Linked DNA regions of Homo sapiens: region 1 is linked to region 2. Evidence: promoter capture Hi-C in 16 types of primary human blood cells and fetal thymus (Javierre and others, 2016). All regions are on one chromosome and are shown on one strand. Each heading gives the region's core, a stretch centred on a gene start or on the middle of the fragment in contact. The rest is flanking DNA. Distances are from core to core; before and after follow the strand shown. Region 1 overlaps SIK3 (SIK family kinase 3). Region 2 holds the start of SIK3 (SIK family kinase 3).

Evidence for each region. The method cuts DNA at HindIII sites, captures the fragments that hold promoters and counts their contacts. A CHiCAGO score of 5 or more calls a contact.
Region 1: a fragment that was not itself captured here is called in contact with the fragment with the promoter of SIK3 in region 2 in 17 of 17 cell types (total CD8 T cells, naive B cells, naive CD8 T cells and 14 more); the score reaches 31.8 in total CD8 T cells.

Annotation. Positions count from the first base shown.
Region 1 is chr11:116,953,549-116,959,629 of GRCh38, forward strand. SIK3 (SIK family kinase 3) reads right to left here. Exons shown (of 25, transcript NM_001366686.3): 2 at 3,400-3,516; 3 at 496-559. Among named protein-coding and RNA genes, the nearest start is that of APOA1, 120 kb to the left of the region's middle. The HindIII fragment of the contact is 1,562 bases long and covers 3,913-5,474 here.
Region 2 is chr11:117,095,956-117,102,604 of GRCh38, forward strand. SIK3 (SIK family kinase 3) reads right to left here and starts at 2,473. Exons shown (of 25, transcript NM_001366686.3): 1 at 2,188-2,473. The coding sequence starts at 2,460. RefSeq lists an enhancer at 981-1,030 and silencers at 2,352-2,401, 2,482-2,661. The HindIII fragment of the contact is 6,059 bases long and covers 1,331-6,649 here.

The DNA.
Region 1 (6,081 bases), core at 3,444-5,943, 140 kb before region 2:
CCCCCAAAATTACAAGAATTACTGAGGGGAACTGTGAACACATGGTAAATAATATAGTTACATGTTATATTTAAACAAAGTTTAAGGAACGCACTCGGGTGAGATTATGTGCTCTAAGTGGCTCTTTCTGACACAACAGAGGCCCACACACTTGTGTGAGTTCTGTCGCACTTGGTAACCTCAATTAAAACCTGCAAACAGGAAAGACCCTAAGTCCCACGTTCAGAAAGGATGCTTGTTTTTGGAGATCTTTAATCTCAACTGTCAGCGCCTGACTGAAATAAACAAAACACCTTTGCTAAGGAAACAAATGTGTTAAAGGGATTTTACTAGATTAATCAAAACAAATTAAAATGCCTTTGTTGATAGAAAATGGCAGGATTGAAGAACAGCATCAAGTGACTGCTGCTCAAGTGACAAAGGCACTGAACAGCTATTTTAGGTTTGCCATAGTGTGCTCAATAGCTGTTTAAAGAATGCAATAAATGTACTTACCAAATATTTCCCCTCCACTAGCATATTCTGTCACCAGATAAATCATCCGTTCTGTCTCCATAACCTGGTGCAAAGGCAGGAAAGTGACAGACAGTGACACAAATGACAGGCTGATACAGGAAGATAAACTAATGACTCCTCTTTTCTCATTTGAAATATTAATAACCACTATAGATTAAAGAAAATTTAAAACATTTTTGGGGAAACAAATATAAATGTTATTAAGAAGAAAGGGAAAATTAGATATTCCTCCAAGTTCTTAAAAGTAGGAAACATTTATTGCTTGAGAGAGATAGGCTTTTTGATGTTCCATGAGGTCTCTGCAATCTCTTAAGCTCCATAAAACTGAGAGGCAAAGAAGTTGTCAAGAACCAAAACTTAAACTTCAGATTCAACATCAATCATCTGAAGCACAAAAATGCCCTATCAAATCAAAAAAAAAAAAACTAAAGCAAAAAGAAGCCTTTGGGGAAAATAATGGGAGTCACATAAGAACGCCACAGAAATCACATATGTCTTTCTTTTTTTTATAGAAATGACAACTTTCCTTTCCACTGCCCATTTATTTGAAAAAAAGAGAACAGTAATTTAAAATACTCAACCTTTTAAAGTAACGTAAGTGATTTGTGTTTTGTCTTGGTCCCTTTGTTGCTCCTTTTTAAAATTCATTGTAGTATGTTGTCAGTCCTTTCTTCCTTTTTACATTTTCCATCAAACATTTTTAAAAGTAATAATGATTACATACACTCATTATAAAACAAAAGACCAAAGGCTTTCCTCTTCCCAATCTCCTCCATCTCAATCCCCAGAGGAACACTGTTCTCTGCTTATTGTATATCTTTCTACAACAGTGCTGTCCAATAGAAATATAATATGAACTGCATATATTATTTTAACTTTTCTAGTAGCCACATTTAAAAAGGAAAAAGGAAAAGGTGAAGATAATTCTAATACTACTTTTTATTTACCCCAATATATCCAAAATACTATCATTTCAACAATTCTTTTTAAAATTATTTTTAGTTTTACACTTAAATTAATTAAAACTAAATACAATTAAAAATTCAGTTCCGGCCAGGCGCAGTGGCTCACGCCTGTAATCCCAGCACTTTGGGAGGCCGAGGTGGGTGGATCACTTGAGATTAGGAGTTCGAGACCAGCCTGGCCAACACAGTGAAACCCCGTTTCTACTAAAAATACAAAAATTAGCTGGGCGTGGTGGCACATGCCTGTGATCCCAGCTACTTGGAAGGCTGAGGCAGTAGAATCACTTGAACCCAGGAGGCGCAGGCTGCAGTGAGCAGAGATCATGCCACTGCACTCCAGCCCGGGCAACAGAGTGAGACTTCGTCTCAAAAATAAATAAATAAATAAATAAATAAAATTTAAAAAACCCAGCTGCCAGAAAGCAAAATTAAAGCTTGAAAGAAGGCACTGCTCAAAGCTAGCACTGGACCTGTGGAAATCCTCATAGGCTAATCTTGGGTAAGACAGGCAAACTTGCAGAATTCAGTTACAAGGGTAATAGCTATAAGTCAACCTCTTGAGAAAGGTCAGCCTAAGCCCCACAATTATTTAAAGATGATTTATTTTAAAAGGTAAGGTCAAGAAATTTATTCAGCCCATCAGGATAGGAAGGAAGCTGAGGTTAGACACCTGTGAGCTCACAGATATAGGTCTTCAGGCAGCACCAGGAAGCTTTCATAAGTTTGCTTGTGGGGCAGAAGGTAGGCGTTGTTCAACATAATTTAGGCTGATAAATTTCAACAGGTCTGCTCCTGTTGACCTAATTTCATTATGTGAGCAGCTGATGCCAGGGAAGAGCTCTAACGCTGTAGTTTTAACCACACATGTTAATATCACAACATGTTTTCTTTTCCATAAAACTAAGAGGCTACGAAAGCTTGCCCATAGAGCCTTGGGTGTACTTTCTCCACTTTTACACATGGTCCTATGTCTGGGCCAGTAACCATTTACTGCAGACTAACAGCAGCAAAATAACCAAGTGGGTGGCCACGTCCTTCAGAACTAAGAGATGGCTGTTCTGGCAGAAAGCAGCAAGTAGAGTTGGGCCTATGCAGAGGCAAAGTTCTCGGCTGCCAACACATTGCAATTTGAGAAGCATCCCGAAGCCCCACCTCTCCCAAAATATCTCTTTCACCAGCCTGCTAAGGCAAGGTCCTCTCCTCCTATCCCGCTTGAAATTCCAGCCATCAGATTTACTGCTTTTGTAGTTATGCTAGGGAATCATTTTGATGATGGCATGAAATATGCATGTTTCTTGGGAAGACCAAAAAAAAAAAAAACTAAAATAGAAATCTCTCCTATTGGAGAGATCTGGTCACTTGATCTGGTCTCTTGATTATCAAAATAATTACTACCTTGGAAAACTAAGTCTACAATCCTATTAGAATAGAAAAGAGGTAGGTTTTGATTGATCCAAGAAGCAGTCCTTTGCCATAACAATTTATAACATGATCACAGAAACTAGTATTCAAATAATGCTATTAAAAAAATGTTATATTCATCTCTAACTTTTCACCTCTCTAAATTCTCTTCTTTTTGAGTTTCCCATCCTGTGTTAGAACTCTGAACTAAATAAAATAAATTCTCATCATCTTCTGAATTAACATTTTGTGTAGTTGTTGCTAAGAATGGCATCAAATTTTAAAGAACAAATTAAAAAGACCTACCTGGGTAAGGAAAACGTACTAGTAAATGGCCAGGGGAAACTTGAGGATACTAAGTGCTGAGCGCGTAAACAGAAGGGTAGGAAAGATAGCAGGATTAACATAGAAACAAAAAAAGTCACAGATGTTCACCCACCCACATTTCTTCAAAGGGAGCCATACATACAATATTCTGGGTTCTTTGCAGCTATCTGCTATACACTAATGATCCTACCTGGTAGAGCCTGATGATATGGGGGTGGCAAAGCATCTTCATAATTTGAACTTCCCGGAAAATCTTCTTCAAGTTTTCTTCATCCAGCTGGGTCTTATCTATGATCTTGATAGCAACCTGACAACAGAGGGAAAAAAATTACTCTGATGCATTATTAAAAGCAGTTTACTAAGAAAAATTAGGTTCACTTTAAAACATTACGTTCCATAAAATATAAGCTGCCAGTATTCTGTTTACAGAATGTCAATGAGGAAAATTAATTTACTCTTTTTAAAAAGATAGGAAATGGATTCCTAGCAAGTTGGTCTCAAAGGAACAGACTCCAAAAGCTAATGGGTCTTCTGCCATTTCTTCAATTGCTTATACGGTAAAATCCTATGAAAAAATACTTTATTACTCCATAGATGTCGTTACGGTCTGGGTCAAATCATGTTTCAGTGCAGAGTGGTATACAGGGTCTCTCATTAAGACAAGAAGCTTTAAATAAAATAAAAAATTTTTAAAAAGGCAAGAAGCTTGTATCATAAATACATGGTGTCTTACTAAGGTTCTATGAGAACTTTCACAGGGGCTTTACACATCTCACCAGATGCTTGTAGAACTCAATAATAATAATAATAGTAGCAGTGATGGTGGTGGCAGCAGCAGTAGCAGCATCTACCATATACGAAATGTTTACTATGGGCCAGGCATAACTCTTAGTGGTTTGGAAGTACTAACTCATTTAAACCTCCTAACACCCACCTTATCATTAACCTTGCTTTAGAAATACAGAAACTGAGGCACACAGAGATTAAGTAATTAACCCAAGATTAAGTAATTTACACCTAGTATGTGGCAGGTGCAGGATTGAAGCCTAGGTAGCTTGGCTTTAGAATCAAATTCTTAATAAGAATGTTATAAGAATCTGAAGATCTTTCTTTAGCATACATGCACTGCATCATAAAACATATCTTTCCAATGTGCCCCCTTTTAATAAGATACTCATCAGCAAATACATTTTAATGAAGAATGAACGATGAAGGACTTTTAAAAATTTACTAAATCTAAACTTCCTCAGTGAAATACTTAAAATATTTGTGTTGCTCCAAAATATGTCTATATCTCAGTTTCAATTATGTAATCAGTATGGAAGCAATACTGGTTAGATGAAGAACCTAGACTAGTCAAACTCTAGTCCTCTCCAAATCTTAACATTCTAAGATTCTATGCACCAGAGAGGTAAAGGGAACATATACAGTACTTACTGAGGAAAAAATCAGGAAAACAAAATTACAAAAGTAAAAATGTTTAGCTCAGAGAAATAAAGACTGTTTGGAGCCATACGTGGCAGATTATTCAGATGTATAAATGGCTGGCATAAAAGTAACTTTATCTGAAGCTGTTTCAGGTGTTAAAATGAGGACCCACGGGAGAAAGGCACAGGGAGATAAATTTCAGCTGTACTCAAAGAGCATTCAAGCCATGCCTAACGAGGGAGTGTGATGAAAGGAGCTGGGTGTGGCTGGAGCTACAAGGATTAATCAGACACAGCCTAAACTTCAAGGAGATCACAGTCTAAAAAGGAAAAAAGATGTGTGGAACTGAAAACAATGCAGCATTGGAAGTACAAGCAATGGAGCTATGTACCAGGTATAACAACAGACAGAGGATGGTGAATGACCTTCACCTACAGGAGAAGAGGTAGAAAAAGTCTGGGAAAGACTTGACAAAGAAAGCAGAATTTCACTACAGAGAGAACTGGGATAGGCAGAGAAGAAGGTAGAGAATTTAATGAGGATCTCACCAGCTGCTTGGTTTCCTGTAAGAAGTCTTGGATAATATAACCCTTGACCACCTGCATTTCTACTTCTCCTCATTACTGCACCAGATCACATACAAGACCTTAACTCCACAACTGGTCTAGCATCTGCTCCTGCTTCTCTCAGGACAGCTCCCAAAACAACAACAAAAAAAATCATGGTACACAATGTCTCTTCCTAGAACAAATAGCTTGGTCTTAATAGTCATTATTAATAAAATCTTACATGTGAATGGCACCTTGTAATGTACAGAATGCTTTCATAAATATAACAAGCTTAGAAACTTGCAGATATATCCCCATAGCAGAGCTGCCAAACAGCTGTAATCCCAGCACTTTCGGAGGCCAAGGAGGGCAGACTGATTGAGTCCAGGAGTTCAAGACCAGCATGGGCAATATGGTGAAACCCCATCTCTACTAAAAAACTTTTTAAAAATTAGCCGAGCATGGTAGCATGTGTCTGTAGTCCCAGCTACTCAGGAGGCTGAGGTGGAAGGACAGTTTGATCCCGGGAGCTGAAGTTGCAGTGAGCTATGATCGTGCCAGCAACAGAATGAGACCCTGTCTCAAAAGAAAAAAAAAGAACTTCCAAACAAGTGTGTTGGAAATGGGTTACAAGCAATAATGGATCACCTCCAATCTCAACTTTCTGTGCATGCCATGATGTGCAAAAGGTGGGAAGAACTGCTAGGATTTATTTACCTTAATAACAGAGGGCATCAACTGTCTAAGGCCTGTGCCTGAAATCTTCCACCTCTGCCCACCCCCTACTAATTGATGGCATGTACAATGTAACTGGGGAAAAGCGGGTGACCTTCAGGTTAACTTATGAAATTTGTGCATTCTTTCACCTCCAAGAGATCACAGGGAGTCATATAGTG
Region 2 (6,649 bases), core at 1,223-3,722:
ATAAAAACCAACATAAACAGTGACACCCGTTTGTAAACAAGCCAGTGTTTAAAATGCTGCAGTCCTAAAGGATACCAAGGTCTCAGAGAAAAACTATGAAAAACACACGCACGCACATATACACACACATGAAAATTAGAAAGCGGGCAGACCAGCCATAATTAGGCACTGGCTTTGCTGACTACTGAAGATAGAAATGTCTCTTTTATATTAAAGCCAAGAATCAACTGTTTGCAATTACATTTACGAAAACATTCAACCCTGTCTGTAACAGATTTTATCAATATTTTGGTGTATCCAAGGGCTGGAAGATTCAAAATTCTTTAAATCATGAAACCATAAACCAGGCAACCAATTAAGTTCATGGAGACTATCCCCCAGAGGTCAGAGCAAAATAACCACAGGAGCACAAAGTGATTACACAGAAAATAGGCAGAAAAAAAGGAAAGAAATAGCAAAACAAGGAACAAGGCATATTGTTTGTAAATGTAAGTTTGCCTTGGCTAATAGTCAACTAGACTGGAAACACGGTGAGGGGCTGGGGTGGCAAGTGAGGAGCACACCAAAGTCTTGGCTCAATCGACTTCCCCTGACTTCCCCTCAGGGTCTGAGGGAGCCCTGGACTTTGGTATCTCATTCAGCTCTGACCTGCAGACTGGAGGCCCTGTGATAAAAACGGACAAAAAGGCTGAAGAGGGCCCTCCAGAGGAAGTGAAACTGACCAATCAATTCGCCACAGCCACCCACCCTGACACCCTGGTAAGAAGGGCCCCTTGTAGCCTCAGGCAGAAAGATGGTGGGGAAGGAACTTCAGGTTGCAAGTGATCAGGAGAGAAGGCCTAGATAAGTCACTGGCTTCAGAAAACAAGCCACTGCCAAAAAAGCAAAAACAAGGTAGGTCATGACAACCAGAGGCTAGGCTGAGGAGGTGAGGGGAATTGATGTGGCTTTGGTAGGAGGCGGCAGCAGCTGTAAGGGTTCTTCATTCCTCAGGCTGAGGGAAAACACAAGCTGCAGTTCTAAACATAATGAATGACTACATTAAAAGTATTCATTCAAGTAAGATATTGAGCAAAGAAAATTTTAGAGTAAAAATGGGCTTTGCGGGTTCCACCAAAACCAAAAGATTCCTCCTGATGTCTTAGATTCCAGTCCTCCCAACGAAGGCTACATGAAAGTGCTACCATATTTCCTCAAAGAATTTTACATGCATACATATATAGCTTCCTAATTGACCTTGGCCAATTTCACTCCTATAGCGCCTCAAATCCCTTTGAGAACTAAGGGCTCGATGAGTGTAATCTCCCGGTGTCTGGGTTCTTCAATCACAAGCTTCCCCCCAACCAGTAAAAGCCCACCCTGGGTTCTACAAAGCCCACAATTCCCGACCCTCCAACAACTAAAAATAACCAGCAATCAGCTCTCCCAAATTGTTTAACCCCTGACTACCTAGTGCCATCATAAACCTGGGACAGCCCCCACCCCCACCTCACTCCCCCATTCCCTGGGCCCCTTCCTGTGGACAAGCAAAGCAATTTCCCCCTTATTTCCCCATTTTCCTCATTGCCTCCTCCACTAATCGTGTCTCCTCGGGATCCCCTTCGCACCATCTATCAGTCTTAGATGATCAAATGCGGATTCCTGTCTCTGTCTTAAGGCACCAGGATCCTGGGACCTCCCAGCGCCCTGCAGACGTGCACATTCCCAGTCCGTGCCCCAGCCGTCCTGGGTCCCCTTACAAGCCCGGGTCTGCCACTTCACCCTTGTTTTTCCCCATCCTCCGGGTCCACATTTCATATGCCCCTGCCCTCATTCCCTTATGATTCCCTAGCTGCTGGTTCCAGAGTCTTCTGGGCTTACAGTCTCCCGGCCCTCGGGGAGTTCCGACCCCTTCTTTCCAATCATCCCCTTTACCCGCCTGCCCTCAGCCCCGAGGACCCCTCCCCGCGCCCGGCTCCTGGGCGCCGGTGCTCTGTGCCCTCGGCCCCCTGCTTGGAGTTCCGCCGTCTCGAGTCCCAGGTGTCCCTAGCTCCGCGCCCGCCCCGCCGCGGCTGGCTCCCTCCCGCCTCCCGGCCCCCAACGCTCCCACCACGCGCCGCGCTCGCCGCCCCGACCCCCCGGCTGGGGGGCGCGGACCTCTCCCGGCCCCGCCACGCTCCGACTGCCGCCTGGCCCCTGCGCCGGTACCTTGGCCTTGGTGACGAGGTGCGTGGCCCGCTTGACCACCGCGAAGTTGCCCTTGCCGATGGTGCGGTCGATCTCGTAGTAGCCGATACGGGCGGGCATGGGTCCGCGGGAGGCCGGGGCTGGGGGACGCGGCTGGCCGGCCGCAGGGGACACGGCAGCGGGGGCGGCTGGGGACCCCGGCGCGGGCGGAGGCAGCAGGCGGCCCGCGGGCCCGGCTCCCCCAGTCCCGGCCCCGGCAGCCCCGCCAGCTCCGCTCGCCGCCGCCGCCGCCATCTTGTTGTGCAGTGAAACCTCCGGGGCCGCGGGGAGCCGGCTCGGGGGAGGGGGCAAGGGGGGGCGGGAAAGGGGGGGCCGCGGACGTCACTCGGGGAGGCGGGGCGCTTTCGCCGACCGGCGCCCGGCTCCATGGCAACCGCGGGTCACGTGCCGACGCGCGTCACTGCCCGGAGCCATGGCAACCGTGACCTCACCGGCGGGCTCGACCTTCCCGCGTGGGCCCCGGTTCCTGAGGCGCTGGCTCCCGGGTGCCCCCCTCCGGGAGCTGGCGGTGGGAACCTTCGATGGGCCCCCAACCTCGAAGTCTCCGCCACCTTTCCCGAGTGGGGGGCGCAGGATGCCCGACCCAAAGCCAACCCCCCACCGCCGCTCGAATCGCCAATGTGACCTCTGCTGTGACCTCTGTCCCAGTTCAACGATCACCCAACCTCCCTTAACAAAAAAAAAGTGTTTCCTCATCACCAAAAATACCAGCGTTGTCCCACTTTAGCCCTTGAGGCCACAAATGCAGGAATAGCTACACTCTTGAAGCAACTGTAACCAAGTTGGTAACAACGCAGGGGAATTCTTCGGTAAAATTCCTTCCTCTTACAAAATCCAGCTCACCCTGCACAGTCAACCTAATTGTCACCGAATATAGGAGAATGGGGAAACTAGGATTTGCGTGTTCAAGGGCGGACAAGCCAGTCCAAACAGGCATTCCAGTCATTGGGTGGGTGACAGCCAAAGAAGGTACGTCATTTTCCTTCCTACCACCCCCATCTCTGAACAATTCTACAGGGATGTCTGTCAGAGTGCCTACATACTATTTCTGTTGCTTGTATAACCCTGATGAAGCAGTGGTGCGCATTGTCCAATGAACCACGTCGTGTTTAAACAACAGTCGGTTAAGCAAAATAAATAAGTAAATAATAAAAATTCCATCCTTCCTAGTGACTCTCCGAGGACATTGAGGGTCATCAAGTTAATAACTCCAGCAATTTCATATCTCTTTTTCTTCCCTTGCCTATTACCTGCATCCTTCATAGCTCCCAGGCTTCCTCCTCCTCTCTCCCCTTCCCTTTATTAAATAGATTAACTTAGCTGCTTTAGGTGAGGGTTGCAGGTAGGAAATCAGACTGTCAACAAAATAGTCTTTGGCAGGCTGGGTGGAAAGGAGGGAAGATTGTGAATATTCCAATGTTAAAATGTATTCCTTTGGACTAGTCCTGATCCATCCATATCTATGTCTCTCTCAATGGTAGAACTGTATTGTGAGGTCACTGCATGCACAGTATTAAAAACTGACACCCAGGGCACTGTAAATGTGTGGAAGGATAACTCGTGTTTACTCGCTGACCAAAGAACACCTCCTGGTGCTCCAATTCCCTATCCAACCATGAGTAATGGCTGGGACTTAAGATGGGACAGAGGGGTCATCCCACAATGGTCTTGGATCTATTCCCTGGTAGCTGTTCCAAACTGCCAACACAATTAACACTAATTGGCTCCCTTATTAGCAACTAAAGATAAGAATGAAGTGGGCCTTGGCTTCTTGCATTGGTTAAGCCCTTTCATCAGCTGAGCTCATTCCATCCCAGATAAATGATGGGGTGTGACCTGCCTCTCCTATCACTTCATGGCTCTCAGCTGCCTCTAGCAGGGACTATAACTTTGGTGCTGGGCTTCACAGCTGCAGTTTTTGGGTTTTTGTTTTTTTTTTTAGACAGAGTCTCACTCTGTCACCCAGGCTGGAGTGCAGTGGTGCAATCTCAGCTCACCACAACCTCCACCTCCCAGGTTCAAGCCATTCTCCTGCCTCAGCCTCCCGAGTAGCTGAGACTACAGGCGCACACCACCATGCCCGGCTAATTTTGTATTTTTAGTAGAGACGGGGTTTCGATATGTTGGCCAGACTGGTCTCGAACTCCTGACCTCGTGATCCCCCCGCCTCAGCCTCCCAAAGTGCTGGGATTACAGGCGTGAGCCACCGTGCCCAGCTACAGCTGCAGTTTTACCATCTCCCTGGGTGTCTCAACAGAAACCTTAGCTGGCTAGTAAAGCAAATAAAAAAATCTTTCACTGTGGAAGCTGCAGGAGCAGCACTGAAACCATTCTTACTGATGACTGTATGATCACAGAGTGTCCTCCACTAATGGAGGTAATTCGAACATCAAATATCAGAACTTTTGCTACTCTCTCAAGAGTGTCAAAAACAAAAACAACTCTGGGAAGGACCTAGAAAATGCAGCATTGTTCTAATTTCCACAGAGAAGAAGCAGATGACTCTTGTCCCTCAATAATGACCAGAACATATGCTGTGTGCTGTGTGTTATGTCACTTACGCTCCTTTCCTGTATAGATTGAGGTCACTAGATGGTGTTTCTGATTGAGACTTTGGTAGAGACTTGCTGGAGATCTCCTTGAAGAATAGTCCTCTTTGGCACAAAGAATATAGAAAATTAGAGAAGGGAGTAATCAAAGGAGATCATCAGGCAAAAAGGAAAATAGTTTAGATGTTTACGTTTAATAAGGATTTATTGAGTACCAAGAACTGAGTTAGGTTCTGAGAGAAACTCAGAGGAAATAGCAATCTGCCACGCGTTATGCTAAACAGTGTACCTAAGGGAACTCACTTAATCTTCACAACAACCTAATTAGATGGTTTGTATTATATCTCTATTTTGCAGATAAGGAAAATGAGGCACATAGGGATTAGGGGAATTGGCCAAAATCACAGAGCTAGAAAGTGATAGAACTGGGATTAAAACCCAGGCAACCTACCTCTGGAACCTAGGATCTTCCCCATTGTATTATAATCCCTGTCAAGGTAGGAGCCAGTAGGAAAAGTGGTCTCTCCATTAAGTTCAGGGTGACTGGGCTCAGTTTCGACCCAGGGAAGAAGAGTATTTTGAGAGGTCTTGAAAGCAGGACAGAGCAGGTAGCAGAAGCGCAGGAATAAAGACAACAAGACAGTAAGACTGAATGAAGTGCCTGCGATGGCTTCACTTGTAAATAGCACCAAGAAGAGTATCATGGCTTATTGTGTAGAAGTATTTCTGGCCCTTGAGGCCACACCTGTAATCCCAGCACCTTGAGAGGCCGAGGCGGGCGGATCACAAGGTCAAGAGATCACGACCATCCTGGCCAACATGGTGAAACCCCGTCTCTACTAAAAATACAAAAAAAATTAGCCGGGCATGGTGGCACATGCCTGTAATCCCAGCTACTCGGGAGGCTGAGGCAGGAGAATCGCTTGAACCCAGGAGGCAGAGGTTGCAGTGAGCCGAGATCGTGCCACTGCACTCCAGCCTGGCAACAGAGCAAGACTCCATCTCAAAAAAAAAAAGAATAAAAAAGAATATAGGCCTGGCCAGGCACAAGTGGCTCACACCTGTAATCCCAGCACTTTGGGAGGATGAGGTGAGTGGATCACTTGAGGCCAGGAGTTCGAGACCAGCCTGGCCAACATGGCAAAACCCTGTATCTACCAAAAATCTTTAAAAAATAGCCAGACTTGGTGGTGCATGCCTGTAATCCCAGCTACTTGGGAGGCTAACGCACAAGAATTGCTTGAACCCAGGAGGCAAAGGTTGCAGTGAGTCGAGATCGTGCCATTGCACTCCAGCCTGGGCAACACAGTGAAAACTCCTCTCACAAAAAAAACAAAATACAGGCCTATAAGTGTTGTGTTCCTGTCCTGAAGAAGACTCAGAGGAGTGGCTTGGGGGTGGAATTCTCAGAGCCCCTGTAATGCAAGACAAAGGCAGAGAGATAGACCCTTCACCCAGCTCCTAATCAGCCATCATTACCAACTCACCCTTTTCTGAAAAAGCAAAAGATAGATTCAAAGAGGAAAACGAGACATTTTCCTATGTAATGTCATTGTGTCCTGTTTCCAGAATTTGAAAAGAGCAGACCAAGTTATTCTCAATGACAGTGATAGGAACTTGGAAACTTTTAGAAGTGATACAGAATGTCTGAGGACCTAAGGTCTGACCTGAGAGTGATACAAACAGTGAGATGTCACATATTTTCAGTGATTTTCAAAGAACACTTAGGCTGCCTGCAGAGCAGTTTACCTGCAACCTGAAAGAAAATTGCAGCCTTACAATGTTGCTCCTTAGACTCTCGGAGCATGAGGACTTGAAGAAAGCCAGGCTTTGCACTTTTTATTGGTCCAACTCATTACTACTCTGAAAAAAAA